2 separate regions of the Homo sapiens genome follow, and region 1 is linked to region 2. The links are contacts of gene promoters, found by promoter capture Hi-C in blood cells and fetal thymus (Javierre and others, 2016). All regions are on one chromosome and are shown on one strand. The core of a region is centred on a gene start or on the middle of the fragment in contact, and the rest is flanking DNA. Distances in the headings are between cores, read along the strand shown. Region 1 has its middle 15 kb from the start of EYA3. Region 2 holds the start of DNAJC8 (DnaJ heat shock protein family (Hsp40) member C8).

Evidence for each region. Contacts are between HindIII fragments. The CHiCAGO score rates a contact against its expected background, and 5 or more counts as called.
Region 1: a contact is called between a fragment that was not itself captured here and the fragment with the promoter of DNAJC8 in region 2, in 1 of 17 cell types (endothelial precursors). The highest score is 6.1, in endothelial precursors.

Annotation. Positions count from the first base shown.
Region 1 is chr1:28,101,828-28,105,284 of GRCh38, reverse strand. No RefSeq gene overlaps it. Among named protein-coding and RNA genes, the nearest start is that of EYA3, 15 kb to the right of the region's middle. The HindIII fragment of the contact is 3,238 bases long and covers 383-3,457 here.
Region 2 is chr1:28,231,423-28,234,569 of GRCh38, reverse strand. DNAJC8 (DnaJ heat shock protein family (Hsp40) member C8) reads left to right here and starts at 1,541. Exons shown (of 9, transcript NM_014280.3): 1 at 1,541-1,649. The coding sequence starts at 1,572. RefSeq lists an enhancer at 1,318-1,851. The HindIII fragment of the contact is 12,029 bases long and covers 1-3,147 here.

The sequences.
Region 1 (3,457 bases), core at 752-3,251, 130 kb after region 2:
GATTGGCTCAGGAATCTGAGTGGGAGGAGCTTAGGTCTCAGGGATGATGACGTGAGGCTGGACTAGGAAGCTGCAGCTCGCTGGGCTCCTTCACCTTCAAGGTGCTCCTACCCCAGCGCTGGAGTCACACACTTGTGTTTGGATCCCGCCCTTCCCACCTCTGGGACTTCGACTTAATGATTTAACAACCTTGAGCCCCAGTTTTCTGTAAAGTGGAGAGAATCAGAATATATATAGCCAAATGATAGATAATAATTGTGCCCTTGGGAGAAGTCAGTGAGGCGCTGCATATGAAGGACTAACACAGTGCCTCGGATGCTGCATGCTAGTAAATAGCAGCCAGATTATTGCCAGATTCCTATTCAGGGGAGCCGGAGAAGCTTTTTCTACTTTCCGCTTCCTTCTCCTCCCATTGCCTTCTTTGGTAGGGAAGTGGAATTGTATTCCAGAGGCAGAGTACATGTAATGCCTCTCTCACCTTTCATTCTTTTCACCTCTGAATGATTTTTATTAGTTTTGTAGCTCACAGCCCATTTCACAAAGTTGTAATTTGCCTCTTGCCTGGAGAATATTAAACTGTTACATAAAAGCAATAGTTTTTTTATGCTAGGAATTTTCACTATGCCGATTTTCTATGTCTTTTATAGATAAGACATTGGATCAGCCATGGTTCATTGATTGAAAACATCAGTGACCAATTCTGGTCTTAATAACAACAACAACAAAAATATTTTATTGGAAAGATATGGGATAGCTTACCGAAGGAAAGCTGAACGTCAAGCCTCAGAAAAAGCATACAGGGTAGCTCCAGGGATCTAGGTAGCAGGAAGTTTTGTTTGTTTGTTTGTTTTGTTTTGAAACAGGGTCTCACTCTGTCGCCCAGGCTGGAAGTGCAGTGGTGCAATCACGACTCACTGCAGCCTCAACCTCCTAGGTTCAGGTGGTCCTCCTGCCTCAGCCTCCTGAGTAGCTGGGACCACAGGTGCCACCATGTCTAGCTAATTTTTTTCTTTTGTATTATTTGTAGAGACAGGGTTTCGCTATGTTGCCCAGGCTGGTCTCGAACTCCTAGGCTCAAGCAATCCTCCAGCCTTGGCCTCCAAAAATACTGGGATTAGAGGGGTGAGCCACCATACCCTGCCTCATAATATCTTCTAATTGCTAGTTCATTTTCAAATTTCCTCAATTGATAAAAGAATTTTTTTTTTTTGAGACAGAGTCTCGCTCTGTCGCCCAGGCTAGAGTGCAGTGGCGCAATCTTGGCTCACTGCAACCTCTGCCTCCTGGGTTTAAGCGATTCTCCTGCCTCAGCTGCCTGAGTAGCTGGGATTACAGGCATGCGCCACCACGCCTGGCTAATTTTTGTATTTTTAGTAGAGATAGGGTTTCACCATGTTGGTCAGGCTGGTCTCGAACTCCTGACCTCGTTATCCACCCGCCTCAGCATCCCAAAGTGCTGGGATTACAGGCGTGAACCATCATACCCGGCCTAAGAATGTATTTTGTAGACTTTTTCCCAAATCAAGATTGTATCAAAGTTCACTCATTGCAATTTGTTATTGGGTCTCTTTACTCTCTTTTAGTCTAAATCCCCTCCATTTGTGGATTTTTCATGATATTGACATTTTGAAGAGTTTAGGCTAGCTGTCATGTAAAAAATTTTTACATTTTTTTGGTATAGTATTTTTTATTGTGGTAAAATATGCATAAGATTACAGTTTTAACTATTTTAAAGTGTACAAATCAATGGCATTAAGTACATTTACAATGTTGTACAACCATCACCACTATCAATTTCTGGAACTTTTTTTTTTTTTTTTTGAGATGGAGTCTTGCTCTGTCGCCAGGCTGGAGTGCAGTGGTGTGATCTCGGCTCACTGCAACCTCCACCTCCCGGGTTCAAGCGATTCTCCTGCCTCAGCCTCCTGAGTAGCTGGGACTACAGGCACGCGCCACCACACAGCTAATTTTTGTATTTTTAGTAGAGACAGGGTTTCATCATATTGGCTAGGATGGTCTCAGTCTCTTGACTTCGTGATCTGTCTGCCTCGGCCTCCCAAAATGTTGGGATTACAGATGTGAGCCACCACGCCCGGCCAATTTCTGGAACTTTTTTTTATCATCACGAACTAAAACTCTGTACCACTAAACAATAACCCTCCATTACTCCCTACCTCTAGCTTCTGGGAACCTTTATTGTACCGTCTGTATCTATGAATTTGCCTATTTTAGGTACCTCGTGTAAGTGGAATCATGTAATATATGTCCCTTTGTATTTGGCTTATTTCATTTAGCATAATGAATGTTTTCAAGTTTCAGCCGTGTTGTAGCATGTATCAGACTTTCATTCTCTGCATTGCTTTTTTTTTTTTTTTTTTGAGACAGAGTCTCCATCTGCTGCCCAGGCTGGAGCGCAATGGTGTGATCTTGGCTCACTGCAACCTCCACCTCCCAGGTTCAAGCCATTCTCCTGCCTCAGCCTCCCAAGTAGCTGGGACTACAGGCATGCGCCACCACGCCCAGCTAATTTTTGTATTTTAATAGAGATGGGGTTTCACCGTGTTGGCCAGGCTAGTCTTGAATGCCTGACCTCAAGTGATCCACCTGCCTTGGCCTCCCAAAGTGCTGGGATTACAGGTGTGAGCCACTGCACCCGGCCTGCATTGCTCTTTAAAGTTAATTTATTTGAGTCTTATATTTATTTTCTTATAACTTTTTAAACTTTTTTTTTAACATGAAGGAATGCATTTAGATGTATTCCCAAATTTAAGAAAATCTGTCTAGACTTTTACGCTGGCCAAGCTAATTAGATTTAGATTAGTGAGCTCATAGTGAGTGGGTTAATTTATCACCAGGTTGCAGTAAAATTAACCTTCCAAAACAAACATAGTTTATAGCTTTGAATGAATAACCACCATTTCCTATACTAAACATTCTTTTAAAAATGTAGTTTGCTGTAATAAAAATTAATAGCCTCAGGATTACAAGTAAATACTCCCTGGGATTATTAAAACAAGCATTTCAATAGTATAGAAAAGCTCTTTGTCTTTTTAATTAAAAGACTTAGTCTATTTTTATGATGACATAGTTCAGAATTCTTTTAGATGTATCTTAAATTTTATGGTAACTCTTATGTAGAAATTCACTAACCCTCGGCCTTGTCTTTTTATTTTTTTTTTGAGAAGGAGTCTTGCTCTGTTGCCCAGACTGGAGTCCAGTGGCGCGATCTCGGCTTACTGCAAGCTCCACCTCCCGGGTTCACACCATTCTCCTGCCTCGGCCTCCCGAGTAGCTGGGACTACAGGCGCCTGCCACCACGCCCGGCTAATTTTTTGTATTTTTAGTAGAGACGGGGTTTCACCGTGTTAGCCAGGATGGTCTCGATCTCCTGACCTCGTGATCTGCCCGCCTCGGCCTCCCAAAGTGCTGGGATTACAGGCATGAGCCACCGTGCCCG
Region 2 (3,147 bases), core at 292-2,791:
CAACAGTAGTCTTTACTCTCATGAAGTTTATAGCTCTTCTCTAACTCATTTTCTCTTCTCTGTTTCTTCTTTTTTAGATGAGAGAATTGGGCCAGATTATCTACCTGATTGATGATTATAAAAATACCTTCTTTGGGGCTGGGCGTGGTGTCTCACACCTGTAATCCCAGCACTTCGGGAGGCCGAGGCGCATGGATCATGAGGTCAGGAGTTCGAGATCAGCCTGACTAACTCCGTCTCTACTAAAAATACAAAAATCAGCCGGGCGTGGTGACATGCGCCTGTAATCTCAGCTACTCAGGAGGTTGAGGCAGGAGAATTGCTTGAACCTGGGAGGCGGCGGTTGCAGTGAGCCAAGATCATGCCACTGCACTCCAGCCTGGGCAACAGAGCAAGCCTCTGCCTCAAAAAAACAAAACAAAACAAAACCTTCTTTGTTTTCTATGAAATAGTAAAACTGGCTTTATTGATTATATTTTAGTTGAGAAAATAGCAGCCCTACCTGGTATTTTGTTTAATTCCATTTATGTGAAATACGTATTCACATATTGTTTAACTCCATTTATGTGAAATATCCAGAATAGGTAAATCCATATAGATAGAACACAGATTGCTTGTTTTCAGGGACTGGGGAGAGGGGGCGAATAGGGAGTAACTGCTTAATAGGTACTAGGTCTCCTCGGCCAGGCGCGGTGGCTCACGCCTGTAATCCCCGCACTTTGGGAGGCCAAGGCGAGCGGATTACGACGTCAGGAGATCGTAGACCATCCTGGCCAACATGGTGAACATCCGGCTTTACTAAAAATATAAAAATTAGCGGGGCATGGTGGCGTTTGTCTGTAATCTCAGCTACTCGGGAGGCTAAGGCAGAATTTCTGGAACCGGGGAGGCGCCACTGCACTCCAGCCTGGGTGACAGAGTGAGACTCCGTCTAAAAAAAAAAAGTAGATACTAAGTCTCCTTTTGAGGTGATGAAACTATTTTGGAACCAGGTAGACATGGTGGTTGCAGAACATTGTGAATGTTCTGAAGACAGCTGAGCCGGTCCGGCGCGGTGGCTCATGCCTGTAATTCCTGTACTTTGGGAGGCCTGGGCAACATGGCAAGACCCCGTCTCCACAAAAGTACATAAAATTAGCCGGGCATGGTGGCGCGCGCCTGCAGTCCCAGCTACTCGGGAGGCTGAAGTGAGAGGATCGCTTGAGCTTGGGAGGTCGAGGCTGCAGTGAGCTGTGATTGCACCACTCGACTCCAGCCTGGACGACAGAGATCCTGTCTCAAAAATAAATAAATAAATAAACCCACTGAATTATTCACTTTTTCTTTTATTCTTCTTATTATTTTTTACCTAACAATAACTTAAGCACATTATTTACTTTAAAGTGGTTAATTATATGTTATGTGTAATTCGTTTAAATTTTAAAAAGCCCACCTACTTTTAAAGTGCCTGGCTGGGCTGCGAGCCCTTTAAGAACCTCTCAGACGGGAGGCGGGGCTAGAGGAGCGGACCTGTAAGAATCACGTGAGGCGACGCCTGCGCAGAAGGGTCACGTGGTGGCTGGGCCGGGGAAATGGCGGCTTCAGGAGAGAGCGGGACTTCAGGCGGCGGAGGCAGCACCGAGGAAGCATTTATGACCTTCTACAGTGAGGTGAACACAGAGTGAGGAGTAGTGGCACCGGGGCGACCGCTCCCGGATCTGCTTTCCCAGTGGACAAAGGCAGTGGCCGCCTGGCCTGGACCGTTGGGCGATTCCTTCAGTCCAGTCTTCGGGGTGGCGGGGGTCTGGGGGTGTGTGAGCGTCTCCCACTGATAGCTGCTGGGAGATCCCCCGGGGCAACGAAAGAGGGAATGGTGTTCGATCTATCGAGGGAGGTGGCGAGTGTGTCCAACATAGTGCGGGCGCGCGGGCAGAGTGCCCCAAGTCCGCGGAGTCGGGGGCTGGCAGAGGCTGGGCCCTTCCTGGGAGTGACTTAGCCTTCTTGGCCCCCGAGACGTTTCTTAGTCCTTTGTAATGAGTTGTTTTAGTGGTTGTTTCTGCCATTCACGAACGCCAGGCACTGTGTATCATGCCAGTTAGGCATTATATTACCCCCATTTTACAGATGACGAACCTGAGCTTTAGGGAGGTGAAATAGTTTGGGGCCTTACAGTAGGTTACAGCTTGCTTGGTGGTATGTTAGGACAGCAGTGGGCTTGTTCTGAGCCTCCTTTACTATCGCATCTCCAGCGCATAGTATGTAGTGGATGCTCAGTAAATATTTGTTGAGTGAATGAATGAATAAATGAAATAAAAGCATGCCGTTTGGAGTCAGAATCTCAGATTAAATTATTGCAAGGGGCTGGGCACAGTGGCTCACATCTGTAATCCCAGCACTTTGGGAGGCCCAGGCGGGAGGAACCCAAAAGCTCGAGGCTGCAGTGACCTATGATCGGACCACTGCACTCCATTTTTGGCGAGAGTGAGACCCTGTCTCTTTAAAAAGAAGGAAAAAAAGGATAGAAAAAAAAATTCTTGGTTGGGCGCGGTGGCTCACGCCTGTAATCCCAGCACTTTGGGAGGCCGAGACGGGCGGATCACGAGGTCAGGAGATCGAGACCACGGTGAAACCCCGTCTCTACTAGAAATACAAAAAATTAGCTGGGCCTGGTAGTGGGCGCCTGTAGTCCCAGCCACTCGGGAGGCTGAGGCAGGAGAATGGCGTGAACCCGGGAGGCAGAGCTTGCAGTGAGCAGAGATCGCGCCACTGCACTCCAGCTTGGGTGACAGAGCGAGAGACTGTCTAAAAAAGAAAAAAATTCTTGGAAGACAGTTAACCTGACTGGACTGGGATTGAATTCTTTTTTTTTTTCCTAAGGCGGAGTTTTGCTCTTGTTGCCCAGGCCTGGAGTGCAGTGGCACGATCTTGGCCCACTGCAACCTCTGCCTCCCTGGTTCAAGTGATTCTCTCGCCTCAGCCTCCCGAGTAGCTGGGATTACAGGCGCCTGCCACCACGCCTGGCTAATTTTTGTATTTTTGGTAGAGACGGGGGTTTCACCATGTTGGCCAGACTGGTCTTGATCTCCTGACTTAAGGTCCTCCCGCCTCGGCCTCCCAAAGTTGCTGGGATTACAGGCTTGAGCCACCACGCCTGGCCGGGATTGAATT